Regions from separate parts of the Homo sapiens genome. Here all the other regions are linked to region 2. Evidence: promoter capture Hi-C in 16 types of primary human blood cells and fetal thymus (Javierre and others, 2016). All regions are on one chromosome and are shown on one strand. Each heading gives the region's core, a stretch centred on a gene start or on the middle of the fragment in contact. The rest is flanking DNA. Distances are from core to core; before and after follow the strand shown.

Region 1 (3,053 bases), core at 289-2,788, 5.1 Mb after region 2:
TGGATTCCCAGCTCTACCACCCAGTGGTCAAATGACCTGGGGCAAATTGCTTCACCTCTCCAGTCTTCGGCTTCCTTGCCTCTAAACAGTAATAGTAATAAACCACCCTCCAGAGTTGTGAGCATTCAGTGAGATTACATGCATAAATAATTTGCTCATGGTAAGGAGTTGGAGTTCCTGGAAAACATGACAAAGGCACCTTCACAGCTGAGGTGGCCGTCTGAGTCAATGACTCCAATTCTGAGTCCATTGCTTCTGGCCTGTGCTGTCGGGGTGCTTTTTCTCTGCAGGAGCAGTTTATTTCTGAACCAAGGTCATAAATTAGTTCATTTTGCAGTTCTTGAACTGAAAATTTTTATTCAATATCTTTTATGAGAATCACTCAAAGAAATGCCAAAACAACAATAACAGTAATACCTAACACTTATATAAATCCTACTTATGTGCCAAATACAGCTATAAACACTTTAAATGTACTTAATCCTCACAGAAACCCTGTAAGATAGTTCAAAGGTAAATTGAATTAATAAAATAAATCTGACGTGGTTTTTTGTTTTTTTTTTTCTTTCTTTCTTGAGACGGAGTCTCACTCTGTTACCCAGGCTGGAGTACAATGGCGTGATCTTGGCTCACTGCAACCGCCACCTCCCAGGTTCAAGCGATTCTCCTGCTTCAGCCTCCCAAGTAGCTGTGACTACCAGTGTGCACCACCACGTCTGGCTAATTTTTGTATTTTTAGTAAAGATGGGGTTTCACCATGTTAGCCAGGCTGGTCTCGAACTCCTGACCTCAGGTGATCCACCTGCCTTGGCCTCCCAAAGTGCTGGGATTACAGGCGTGAGCCACCGTGGCAGGCAAAATCTGACGTTTTAAAAAGATGTATTTAGATTGACAGTAATACTAGTTCTTTGTATACATCCCGCTGCAAAGAAACGCTTGGAGGTTTTGGACTGGTTTTAAATTAAGAGACCAAATGGTGTCCATTCAAATTCAATTTGAGGCAATCTTTCAACATTTCTCCCACTCAGTTGCCTGCTAAAAACATCATTTTCCCTCAATGGGCCAAACTATGTAGTACTGACTTATCTTAAAAGCTTTATGATGAAAAATTTCAAACCTATACAAAAGCTGAGAGAATAATATAACGTATGCCCATGTACCCATCATCCAGCTTCAACAAATTACCCGCTTCAACAAACCATCACTTTTCAATGGATTTTTCCTTACCCCTCCCCATACTCCTTAGTGAAGACTTTTTTTTTTTTTTGAGAAAGAGTCTCGCTCTGTCGCCCAGCCTGGAGTGCAATGGCACGATCTCGGCTCACTGCAACCTCCGTCTCCCGGGTTTAAGCAATTCTTCTGCCTCAGCCTCCCGAGTACCTGGGACTATAGGCGGCCAACACCACGCCCGGATACTTTTTTGTATTTTTAGTAGAGATGGGGTTTCACCGTGTTAGCCACGATGGTCTCATCTCCTGACCTCGTGATCCGCCCGTCTCAGCCTCCCAAAGTGCTGGGATTACAGGCCTGAGCCACCGCGCCCGGCCGACTTTTTTTTTTTTTTTTTAACAAATGCTATGCACAGACAAAACGTTATCTATGAGAAACCTGATTCTGAGCGTCCTTCATGTCACACTCTGCTACAAAATGATTCCACCTTCTCTTTCCACAATTTCTAGTCCTTTTATTCTAAGTCTATTACCTAGCATAAGACTTTATCCTACCCATTTTCATCTCTCTGGCTGGTCTTTGCACGTGGCAAAATCCAAATGGAGAAAATAAGTGTCTGTGGGGCTTCAAACATCCAAATGATAGTGAGAAGAATAACAAATTCATCAGAGAGGGTTAGGGGTAAAAAATTTGAGAGGCACTCCAATATAAATCTTCTTGGCAGATGGGGAAACTGAGGCCCATGCTCTGAGCTGTCCAAGGTACAGAAGAGAATCACTTGAATCAAGAAATGAAGATAGGATGTGTGGAAAGTAAGCTTCTACCATCCATACTTCTCTCCACTCCTTTCCACCATCTCTACCCATTCCTACCACATCTGTGACGGCCAGAACCATCTCCCCAGACCCCCCGGGGGCAGCATTAACCTGTCTCAAAGCATTGTGTAACACCAGCAGATTTTTAAATCCTTAAGGGCAAAATCAAGCCTCAGTCTCCCCCTACAAAGCTTAATAAGGTGGCTGATTGATACTCGGTGGTCACTCAAATATTTACCGACTCAGAACAGAGCTTTCTAGCGTTAAAAGTTCTCCTTTACCCATTTCCTAGCAACCAGAACCCTAAGCCTATCAGGCTTCCTATTTTTCTACCTCTCTCTACAAGCTCCGGCAGCCTCATTTCTTAGGAGGATGCAGTATAAAGAAGGCAGAATGGGGAATCGGAAAGACTGAGTTTGTGTCTTGGCTGCTACACCTGGTTTGTGCGGCCTCGGACACATCGCCCCTTTCCAGGGACTCCACACCTGCATCTGTAAAATGGGCAGGTTTTAGGAAGCCTTCGTGGATCCAGCCTCCTCTCCGGCGCCGCCCTCTTCAGGCAGCGCCACACTGGGCCTCGGCTTCTCCCACAGTCTCCACGACCTGGGTTGGGTCCGCTCCACTCCCCGAGCTGCTCACACTCCAGAGCACTACATCCTTACCTCCCACTCCCAGGTTGACCTTGCGGGGGTCCGGATCCTCCCTGAAGTCGGCAGTGAGCTTGAAGACCAGGACAGGCTGGGCCTGCGGAACCTCGGCAAAGACTGACGGAGGTGCCATATCGAGAGACTAGGAATCAAGAGATTTCACCCCACGCCCGGAGCTGGCAGGTCAGGTCTGGCCGTTGCGACTGGAGGAGACACTCACCTTCACCTAGCCGGCGGGGGCGGGCCCGCGGCCTCCAATGGTCGAGCCGCGTCCAAAGCTTGGCAACGCGATTAACCAATCGCCAGCTTCTGACGACGAAGGCACAGGGGAGAAGGAACGCTATTAGCCAATCCAAGAAAACAATTTATCGGCTGCCGAGAATGATGCAACCAATGCAATTTCCTCCGGCTGAGGCGTGGG
Region 2 (3,344 bases), core at 678-3,177:
TTAAAATAATAATAATAATTTTTAAAAAATGGACCTGAGAAGACTGAATAGTTGTCTAATAATCTGATATAGTCAAATAAGAATACCCTAAAAGTACCAGCAAAGTTGTAGAACTAGCCTGACTCAAAATAGTCATATTCCTTACAAGTTTTGAGTACTTAATAATTTTTAGATAGTTTTACAAAATAACCATGACAATTACAACTCAATTTCACCCCAAGTTTCCACATGAAAAGAAAGTCAGAAGTTTAGAAGTGTACCTTGGCAATACTGTGAAGAATGAACCAGAGACAAGCAATGTTCTTACCTTACCTAACTGCTGGTGAATGGCAAAGTGGCAGCACTGGCACACTGCCCAATATTTATGTAACGGAGTACTTTCAGTTTGTTTTCCCAAGTAGTGCATCTTCAGATCTGCCTTCCAGACAAACTAAAAGCAGAAGCTTGAATGAATACTGTATTGAAATGTTTTCTCATACTGACTGTGATAAAGCATATATGCTTTATAGCAGTCCTATAGGACTACTATCCTTACCCACTCTAGGAAGATCTGAGAACAAGAAAAGCGATTACTAGAAAGCAAAGTTATTTCCATGAAGAACACTTCAGAATAAATCAATGGAAACCAGAGCACATGATGTTTTCACAATTACCTGGTCGCTTTTCCTTTGGGTTCTCCAATGGAATGGGTTTCTTAGACACAGCATCTTTCACAGCTTGCCTTAGTTTCCTCTGTTCTTTTCGGTACTTCTTGAGAGTGCTTTGTTGTTTAAACTGCTTATTTTTTAGCTTGTTTTCAAGTTTGACTTTACTAGTTTTTATTAACTTGCGAAAGCTTGGGATCTGTTTTTTATTTCTTCTCTAGAAAATAACAGAAAGAATACTGCATACCCAGAAACTTATTTTTTAAATCAGGTTAAAGAGAACTGATTACAAATTTCATTAGACCAATTCCACAATTTCAATGTCCCACAGCCACAGACTTGCATATAAAAGCTAAAACCAAACGATGGCTTTAATCCTACAGAAGAGCGCTACAGCATCAGTTATTCAATCCCAATTCACAGCAATTCAAAGGGTTCTACGATCCCCAAACAGGTTAAGAACCACTGATCTAGTAGTGGTAAGTGGCTATTCAAGGCTAGTTTAACACACCTGTAGTTTAACACATTCAAAGCAAAATGCTGGCTGTCTTTAATAAAACTTACATTTATCTACGATTTTATTACTTACAAAGTGCTCCAACAAATCACCTCTAACAGCCTAGTTGAGTACTGACTGCTGTTATCCTCACATTACTGATGAAGCTGCCAAAAGACCCATAAACTAAGGAGGGCAAAACTGAATTCGGATCTTTGGATTCCACTTCTCTTGCTGGTGACTCATTCAGAAATCCCAAAGTTAGTCCTGAACCCCAGGACTACCTCTTATTTTCTGGGAGAACCAGGACAAATCACTTGCTTTTCTATCTCTTTACCCTTCATGGGTACCGTGACTCACATTATAAACTCGCTGAGGGTAGGACCCTGCTTCTCATTTGTGAAAAACGAGTTCGAAAGACGGTCTTGAAAAATTCCTTCAAAGTATGAAATCCCACGCATGCAAAACTCCGTGCCTGTCTCTTCGTGATACTCTGAAGTGGTGCGCGCACACAGTGGGTAACCAAGGATGAGCTCGGTGTAAGGAATGGAAAGCCCCCAGTCTAAACCACCGCCCCCTAGACACGGGTGAAAACCTGCCTAAAAGCTAACTCAGGCAGTGACTCTATCACCCGAAGGGGCCCTAGGCCGCGGCGACCGGGCTTTTGAGGACACTTACCGCCTTCATCCTTAGGCCTTAAATGAATGCCGGCCAGACAAGTTCACCAGAAGCAGGGTTACTACAGAAATCCCGGGGAATGACACACGTGCCGAAGTCCCTACACTACCAGAGCCGGAAACGGCCTTCAGTCCCTCCCAATCCTCCGCCGCCGGAAGTGAGGGCGGGACTTCCGTAGACAGGTTCGGGCTCGCGCCCTCTCGCGGTGACTGTCTCGCGGCCCTGGACCGGTTGCCCCCCGGCGTGCGCGCGCGGACTGGCACGAGGGAAGCCCCGAGGGCGTCGGTGCCAAAGGCGGGAAGCCGGGCGGGAGGGGCGCATTTTGCAAGGTTATCTGAGTATGATTCTTTGACTCTCGCCCTATTTATTTCTTTTAAAACCTTGGGGAAATCGGGCTCCTCCTCTCAGAATGAGAGGACTTGGTTTTTTCGGTCACCTCATTGCATTTTGTGCCTCTCCTCACGTTGCTTATCTCATGCTGTTATAGATACTGATTTTCGTAGTCTTTTTCCTCCATACAGTCCTGAGGGCAGAAAGAAGCTTATTTTTTGTGTGTAATGCCTGCCCCTCGACGGACATTCTGGCCGTGTTTGTAGCATGGCGAATGATTTCTCATCAGCCTTGGTCACTTAAAAGTCTGTGATTCTTAGTGTTTTATTTTGCATTTTTTTTTTGCTTTAATTTTTAACCATTAGCTGATAAAGAACTGTATCCATGGCTGGGTGCGGTGGTTCACGCTTGTAATCCCAGCACTTAGGGAGGCAGAGGCGGGTGGATCACCTGAGTTCCAGGAGTTCGAGACCAGCCTGGCCAACATGGTGAAACCCTGTCTCTACTAAAAATACAAAAATCAGCCAGACATGGTGGCGTGCGCCTGTAATCCTAGCTACTCGGGAGGCTGAGGCAGGAGAATCGCTTGAACCCAGGAGGCAGAGGTTGCAGTGAGTCGAGATCACACCACTGCACTCCAGCCTGGGTGACAGAGCAAGACTGTCTAAAAAATAAAAATAAAAATAAAAAACTGTATCTGCATTTCAGTATCTTACAACTTTGGGTAAATTCTGTCTGCTTAGTAATTTCACCAAAGTCGTTTTTTGTTTTTGTTTTTTGAGACGGAGTCTTGCTCTGGCGCCCAGGCTGGAGTGCAGTGGCGCAATCTGGGCTCATTGCAAGCTCTGCCTTCTGGGTTCACGCCATTCTCCTGCCTCAGCCTCCCGAGTAACTGGAACTACAGGCGCCCGCCACCACGCCCAGCTAATTTTTTTTGTATTTTTAGTAGAGACGGGGTTTCACCGTGTTAGCCAGGATGGTCTCGATCTCCTGACCTCGTGATTCGCCCACCTTGGCCTCCCAAAGTGCTGGGATAACAGGCATGAGCCACCGCGCCCCGCCTAAAGTCGTTCATTTTTACAGGAAGTTTTATGGATTGCAAGAATAAGAGTATCAAAGTGCTTGTCTCTCAAAGACTTTTTTTTCTCAATAAATTTAAGCATTCCACTTCAAGTTTTTTGTGGGTTTTTTTGAGT
Region 3 (3,541 bases), core at 255-2,754, 7.3 Mb before region 2:
TCCACTGCACCCCAGCCTGGGCAACAGAGGGAGACCCTATCTCCCTCTGAAATAGTCTAAAATAAGGAAACTAGAAATGCGATAATGCCCCCAGGAAATTCTTTCTCAGGAATATATGTATTTGTTAAATGGTTCAGTATATGATTTATTTTTTATTTTATTTATTTATTTGAGATGGAATCTTGCTCTGTCGCCCAGGCGGGAGTGTAGTGGCACCATCTCGGCTCACTGCAGCTTCCACCTCCCTGGGTTCGTTCTAGCGATTCTCCTGCCTCAGCCTCGGGGTAGCTGGGATTACAGGCCCGCGCCACCACGCCCGGCTAATTTTTGCATTTTTAGTAGAGACGGGGTTTCGCTGTGCTGGCCAGGCTGGTCTCCAACGCCTGACCTCAAGTGATCCGCCCGCCTAGGCCTCCCAGAATGCTGGGATTACAGACGTGAGCCACCGCGCCTGGCCTCAGTATATGATTTATAAGCTTTATGCTGTATGAGGGTTCAGTTATGTATTTATACATACTTGATAGGAAATGCTAAAGTTCACATTCCTATGGATAGCTTTTGGTGCTTTTCAAACTAACGAGGCTGGCACGGTGGCTCACGCCTGTAATCCCAGCACTTTGGGGGCCAAAGCAGGCTGATCGCTTGAGGCCAGGAGTTCAAGACCAGCCTGGGCTCGTCTCTATAAAAAGAAAATAAAAAATAAAGCTCTAATGACAGTCATTAAAACTAGCTGCCAAACACCACATTACTAGCGTTAGCGGTCTCAGTGTACTTGGGTGGTTTTAAAATGACACCCATTGGACCTGCAAAACGATGGTGCTTCCCGATATGTTCATGTTATTCATCTTTTAGAATATGGAAGAGAAAGTTCTTAGTTCTCGAAATATTGTGTAAAATATAAGGTGACAACCTGGATCTGTTAAATGACATTCATCTAAGTGTACTCTCAAAGTCAAAATTATCTTTTCATACAGGTGGAACTTATATTTTACCTTACTTGCTAAATAAGTCATTGTCATTAATTGTATTTGCACTGTGTTTTTCAGTGAAAAATGTACTCTGACCTGAATCCTGAATTTTCCTTGATGGTCAAAAGATTAAGGTATCAAATTTCCTTTTTTCTGGATGTATTATCGTTTTACTCTCTTACATTGCAATCCCCCACTCCTGCAAAAAACCCACGGAGTTTCAGAATAAAATGATTAGCATCAGTAAACATGGAAATATTTTTCTTTTTGGATTAAATTATTTGTTTATGTTCTGAGGAAAAATCTTTAAAAGCTTAGTTTTATTGTTTTTGTTGTTCTTTATAACCTTAGCCTTCAGAAAAATAAATGTTTAACTTTGCTTCTTCTGTGACTTGTTCACCTGAATTCAAGAAGGTGGAATTGGGCCTAAGGAGGTGGCTCACGCCTGTAATCCCAGCACTTTAGGAGGCTAAAGTGGGCGGATCACTTGAGGTCAGGAGTTCGAGACCAGCCTGGGCAACACAGTGAAACCTTGTCTCTACTAAAAATACAAAAATAAGCCAAGCGTGGTGGGGGGCCTACAAAAATTAGCCAGGCGTGGTGGCGGGGAGGGGGTTGGGCAGTGCTTGTAGTTCCAGCTACTTGGGAGAACCACTTGAACCAGGGAGAGAGGTTGCAGTGAGCCGAGATCGTGCCATTGCACTCCAGCCTGGGCAACAGAGCGAGTCTTCATCTCAAAAAAGGAAAGGCAGAATTGAAGAAGCTTTGGAAGAGGTGAGGAATAGAGCTGTGGAAATTACTATTTTTTTTTTAATTGAGAATCTCCTGTGTGTAGGTGCCTTACAAACTGGCTTCATGAGTACCCTATAAAACAGATGTTTTTATTTTTAAAATCATCATGGTTTTGTTTTGTTTTGTTTTTTTGAGACAGTCTTGCTCTGTTGCCCATGCTGGAGTGCAGTGGTGCAATCTCAGCTCACTGCAGCCTCTGCCTCCCAGGTTCCAGTGATTCTCCTGCCTCAGCCTCCCGAGCAGCTGGGATTACAGGCGCCCGCCACCATGCCAGGCTAATTTTTTTGTATTTTTAATAGAGACGAAGTTCCACAGTGTTGGCCAGGCTGTTCTCAAACTCCTGGCCTCAAATGATCTGCCCGCCTTGGCCACCGAAAGTGCTGGGATTACAGGTGTTGAGCCACTGCACCTGGTCATTATGTTTTAAAATTACATACAAGTTGTTAAAAAAATATGAACAGCAGAAATAGATTTTAGAAAAACAGAATGAAATTATCCATCTCTTCCCCCATTTAGTGAATATTTGGAGTATTTCTTTTCACACTGTAGGTATTATAATTCCTGATTTATTAGAAGCAGGGAGTGGCTGGGCGTGGTGGCTCATACCTGTAATCCCAGCACTTTGGGAGGCTGAGGCGGGCGGATCACCTGAGGTTGGGAGTTCGAGACCAGCCTGACCAACATGGAGAAACCCCATCTGTACTAAAAATACAAAATTAGCCTGGTGTGATGGTGAATCCCTGTAATCCCAGCTACTCAGGAGGCTGAGGCAGGAGAATTGCTTGAACCTGGGAGGCGGAGGTTTCAGTGAGCTGAGATTGCGCCATTGCACTCCAGCCTGGGTAACAAGAATGAAACTCCATCTCAAAAAAAAAAAAAAAAACAGGGAGTGAGGCCCACAGAAACCAAACAAATTGTTGATGATCACCAAGCTTGTAAATAGGGTAAGATTCAAACCTGTGTATCTGACTCCAAAGTTATACTATTTATACTATTCCAAGGAGTATTTTAAGTATTTGTTCCATTTAGTTAGAAATTATTTACTGTGATATAAAGTCTAATGAATTTCAACTTTAGATTTATGATTGCTTTTGTAAAATATACAGATAATTTGCAAAGTAAGGTTTTTTTTTATTTTTATTTTTCGAGACAGGGTCTCACTGTGTCACCCAGGCTGGAGTGCGGTGGCACGATCACAGTTTACCACAGCCTGGACTTCCTGGGCTCAGGCAATCCTCCCACCTCAGCCTCCTGAGTAGCTAGGACTATAGGCACCTGCCGCCACTCCCGGCTAACTTTTGTCTTTTTGGTAGAGGTGGGGTTTCACTATGTTGCCCAGGCTGGTCTCGAACTCCTGGGCTCAAGCGATATGCCCGCCTCTGCCTCCCACAGTGCTGGGATTCCAAGTGTGAGCCACCATGCCTCACACAATAAAGTTTAATTATTTGTAGTAATTTCCCATTCAAACGAAGACCAAAATTCAGCTTGAAGGGAACATTCAATAGCATTCCACAAAGTCAAATGAGTTTTCTGCCTTAGAGTTTTCCTTAGCTGGTTTAAAATTCCAGGTCTGTTTTTCTTGATCCATAGCATGCTTTTTTCTCTCTTAAAAATATTTTAGAAGAAGATTGTTAGGATTTAGAAAAACATAGCATATAAATTCTTGAACCATTCATTTTTAAAAATAATTTAATTTGAAAGGTAAAAATATACTTTCTACTTTCTGTCTCACTAAATCAGTCTATTCTGGACTTTTCCTATAAAAGATGTATGTGGCCCTT
Region 4 (3,422 bases), core at 146-2,645, 5.3 Mb after region 2:
TACAGTAATATTTCTAAGACAAATTATTACACTGTATTTTTCAAGCCATTACATAATTTTCACTGTTTTCATTGATCTGTTTTCCATTCAATACTCATCCAGAAAAACAGCATCCTAAACCCTGCACTCTACTCACAGTCTAAGTCTAGGGAGGTTACTCTGCAGCTAGATTATATTAACTTTTGGATATACGGCATTATTAACTCACAAGTCATTCAACCTAGAGTCTATACATATAATGTGTGCATCTTTTTTATTTATACTTGTTTTACATTTCAATGTTGTTACTTCTCTCTCATGGATTTTACAGTTTATTTCTATTTCTCCCAATTGACAAGGACATTTAACATTCTAATGTCCATTTTAGTCAAGTGCATTTACCCCGTTTTCAATGGATATGGCCCTTGTTAGGAGTTACCTTGTGTTAAAATACTCCTGCCAGTTTGCTGTCATTCACAAAGCTTAATGAGCGCTCCCCCCATTTCCTTATCCACATTCTAATGAAAAACATGAAACAGTACTGGAACCAAAGGGAAGTAAAAGGGATCTACTTTGCCTTTCCCAAGTTGATTCTCTCCTCCTTTTGAATACATAACACTTTCCTGATTTGAAGAGAAAACATACATCAAAAAGCTGCCAGGTCACTGTTTGACTATTACCCTTCACATGTAAAGGAGGCATCGGTCTTTGTCATATCAACAGTCCCCTCTAGTTTACCTCTCCCTCAATTCAGTCCTCACCTTTAATGGCTGGCACCTTTACTAATGTACAAGAATAAGAACTGTAAAGAACAATAATCTGTTTCTTTCTTCACCCAGCTTTCTTCAGAAGGACCTGACTTCAGTACACATAAATCATCCTGCTTGGTTGTGAATGCAATTAGTTTTACTTTCACAAGAATCGTGTCCTCTTGTTGATCTCTTTCCATTTTCTTCATACTTACATCTACTTTCTAATACCGTCACACTTCCTTTCTAGGCAACTTCTCCCTTTTTGCCAACTTCAGGTGGCCAAAGAAATATGCTATCAGTTTCATCTCTCTTGTTTGGAGGCTGATGTGCTCCCTGAACATACAGTCCTAATCCCAGCTCAATTTTCATGTTCAGGAAATAGGTGGGGTATCATGCTTGCTTCACAGAGAAACTGAAACCTATTCCTGAATACGATCTTTCCCACATTACTTCCAGTCTGGAATTCTGCATTCTCACTGCACAATGATTTCCAATCACTCATGTGTTAAGATTTAACATGTAAGTCCTTTATCTAGCTGAGAGATCCCAGATTCGGGTTCCTGCCCCGTCAGTAAGGGAAGATACAGCAAGGAGTTTGTAAAAGCACTAGCCCAGAAAACATCTCAAGCCGTTAGATCCATTTCAGGGTCTGGTTCACGCCAGTTGGCTTCACCTTAATCGAGTTAGTAGCACTTACCTGAGCTTCGGGATACCCCATCCCACCCTATTCCTGTTTAGTCCCAGGTGGGGTCCAGGGCTTTGGCTGACAGATTTTCGATCCTGAGTCCCGATTCAGATTTCACTGACGGTTAGAAATAGGTCCTGGTTCCTGACTGGGATCAACTCCCAGCTGGGACCTTGCTTGAATGGAGTGTCGGTTCGAATCATGTGGTAGTGGCAGGAGCCAGGAAGGAACCCATGTCGGCTCCGGCTCTCAGCCGGGATCCTGGCTCCGGACAAGACCCAGGGGTCGGGTCAGCCCCAGGTCGGGTTCGAAGCCGGGTGCAGGTCTCACCTTGACGCAGTCGATGGGGTACATCACGCAGTGCTCCAGGATCCCTGCCACGGCGCCTGCCACCATGTGCGTGGTGACAGTGGCTCCAGCCGGCAGCGCCTCGTAGTCCGGGCCGGAGTCCGGATCTTGTCGTACCGGGGGCCTGCAGGCCCCGGCCTCCCCGCCGCCGGCCCCCCGGCCCACGCCCCGCTGCAGCCACCCGTCCAGCAGCGCCGACTCCCCGGGGCTCCGCCCGGGCCCTGCCGCCGGCCCCCCCGCCACACCGCCAGCACCCCGCCCCTCCAACTCCATCCACCCGGGCCAGCTGCGGCGCCCACCCCCGCCGCCGCTGCCACCACTGCCGCCGCCGCCCCCCGGCCCCGTAGTGTCCGCCTCAGGCGCGGCCCAGAGAGCCCGGGGCCTCCGGCTCCCGCTTGGCCCCGCGGACACGCCCCCCAAGCAACCATTGGTGGAGACGCCAAGTTAGACCCACCCCTTTCCTTACGTACGAAAAATCAGCCGGTAGTATTAGCGAAGTCGCCTGTCATTCCTCCGCCCTGAGGCGTTGCTAGCGCCTACATCCCACCTTTTCCCCTTTGATCTTAGAAGCTTCTTGTTTATTGGTCACTGATTGGCCGACATGTGCGATCAACCCGCCTCTGACTTTTAGAAGGGCGGGAGAAACTTAAGGCTGAACTTTGATAGGCTCAACCACTCTTGATACTTTGACCGCGGCCATTGGCCCGCACCACGTCGGTCCCCGATTGGCTACAGAAAGAGCGACGCGCCCAGGGACTCTAGGGGCCGACTTCGGGCCCCTCACTAGCGCCTGCAGAGCTGCGGTCCCTGTGCGCGGGATCGCGTCGGGGGCGGGGCGGCGACAGGCCTTCAACGTCAAACTGCTGACGGGCGCCGTTACGACCCGCGCTCCCGTGCGCTCCTCAAATTCTGAGACGCGTGGCTGGAGAGCGGGCGGCCCTGGCCCCGGAGAGCCGTGTTCCCGCGGGATCTCGTCGCGGGCGTGAGGCGGGGCCGGCCTGGGCCGGTCATCCCTGGCTGGCGCGACCCGCAGCCTGTCCGGGAAGCCGTTGCGACATGCGGGCTGGGAACCGCCTCACCTCCAGGGGGGACCGCGGCGGCCCGCTAGACTCTGGTCGGGTCTGGAGTATTGGGCCCTCTGGCCGGACTCGGTGCTCCTCAGGCCCCAGCGCCCGGCACTGAGCCTCGCATCCACATTCGCAGAGTAAACCCAACAAGTGTTGAATGAATGAGGTTCCCCGGGCCCCGGCTGTCACTGGGCTCTGCGCCAGGCCAAGAGCCGAAGGCGGGGGAGGAAGATGTCGAAATGGGCGGGATGATTCACAGATGACGGCCGGTGGCGAGGCGGGGCTGGAGGCCGCATCCCAAAGGCAGCAGGGAAGTGCGGCGGCTGTGGGGAAGCTCGGACGCACGGCCTGGCCGAGTCTGAAGCATCAGTATTTTGTCCCTGAGCCGGCGCGCTGATGGGTCCCCCGCCTGGCGATGAGGGCTTCTCCCTCCCTCGGGTCAGCCCGGGTCCTGAGAGGCAAGGCCAGCGATTCCCGGCCTTAGGACCTCCTGCTCTAGGGAGCACGGGCGTCTTCTTCCATTTGCCTTCCCCGAGCGTGTTGGCACAAGCTGCCCGCGGTTTCCAGCTCTGTCTTCTCTGTTTTACCCAG

What was found. The method cuts DNA at HindIII sites, captures the fragments that hold promoters and counts their contacts. A CHiCAGO score of 5 or more calls a contact.
Region 1: a contact is called between a fragment that was not itself captured here and the fragment with the promoter of NOC3L in region 2, in 3 of 17 cell types (non-activated CD4 T cells, activated CD4 T cells and naive CD8 T cells). The highest score is 10.0, in non-activated CD4 T cells.
Region 3: a fragment that was not itself captured here is called in contact with the fragment with the promoter of NOC3L in region 2 in 1 of 17 cell types (total B cells); the score reaches 5.2 in total B cells.
Region 4: a contact is called between a fragment that was not itself captured here and the fragment with the promoter of NOC3L in region 2, in 3 of 17 cell types (activated CD4 T cells, naive CD8 T cells and fetal thymus). The highest score is 10.0, in activated CD4 T cells.

Annotation. Positions count from the first base shown.
Region 1 is chr10:99,427,801-99,430,853 of GRCh38, forward strand. It overlaps GOT1 (glutamic-oxaloacetic transaminase 1), which reads right to left and starts at 2,824. Exons shown (of 9, transcript NM_002079.3): 1 at 2,648-2,824. The coding sequence starts at 2,765. RefSeq lists enhancers at 2,665-2,724, 2,745-2,794, 2,975-3,053. The HindIII fragment of the contact is 893 bases long and covers 1,093-1,985 here.
Region 2 is chr10:94,361,012-94,364,355 of GRCh38, forward strand. It overlaps NOC3L (NOC3 like DNA replication regulator), which reads right to left and starts at 1,928. Exons shown (of 21, transcript NM_022451.11): 1 at 1,819-1,928; 2 at 654-861. The coding sequence starts at 1,827. RefSeq lists an enhancer at 1,602-1,861 and a silencer at 2,002-2,131. The HindIII fragment of the contact is 1,523 bases long and covers 834-2,356 here.
Region 3 is chr10:87,095,888-87,099,428 of GRCh38, forward strand. SHLD2 (shieldin complex subunit 2) reads left to right here. Exons shown (of 10, transcript NM_001330112.2): 2 at 1,047-1,102. Among named protein-coding and RNA genes, the nearest start is that of SHLD2, 2.5 kb to the left of the region's middle. The HindIII fragment of the contact is 450 bases long and covers 1,280-1,729 here.
Region 4 is chr10:99,618,299-99,621,720 of GRCh38, forward strand. SLC25A28 (solute carrier family 25 member 28) reads right to left here and starts at 2,141. Exons shown (of 4, transcript NM_031212.4): 1 at 1,747-2,141. The coding sequence starts at 2,037. SLC25A28-DT (SLC25A28 divergent transcript) reads left to right here and starts at 2,547. Exons shown (of 1, transcript NR_186534.1): 1 at 2,547-3,422. RefSeq lists enhancers at 1,367-1,949, 2,533-3,115, 3,116-3,422 and silencers at 1,832-1,991, 2,722-2,881. The HindIII fragment of the contact is 1,873 bases long and covers 460-2,332 here.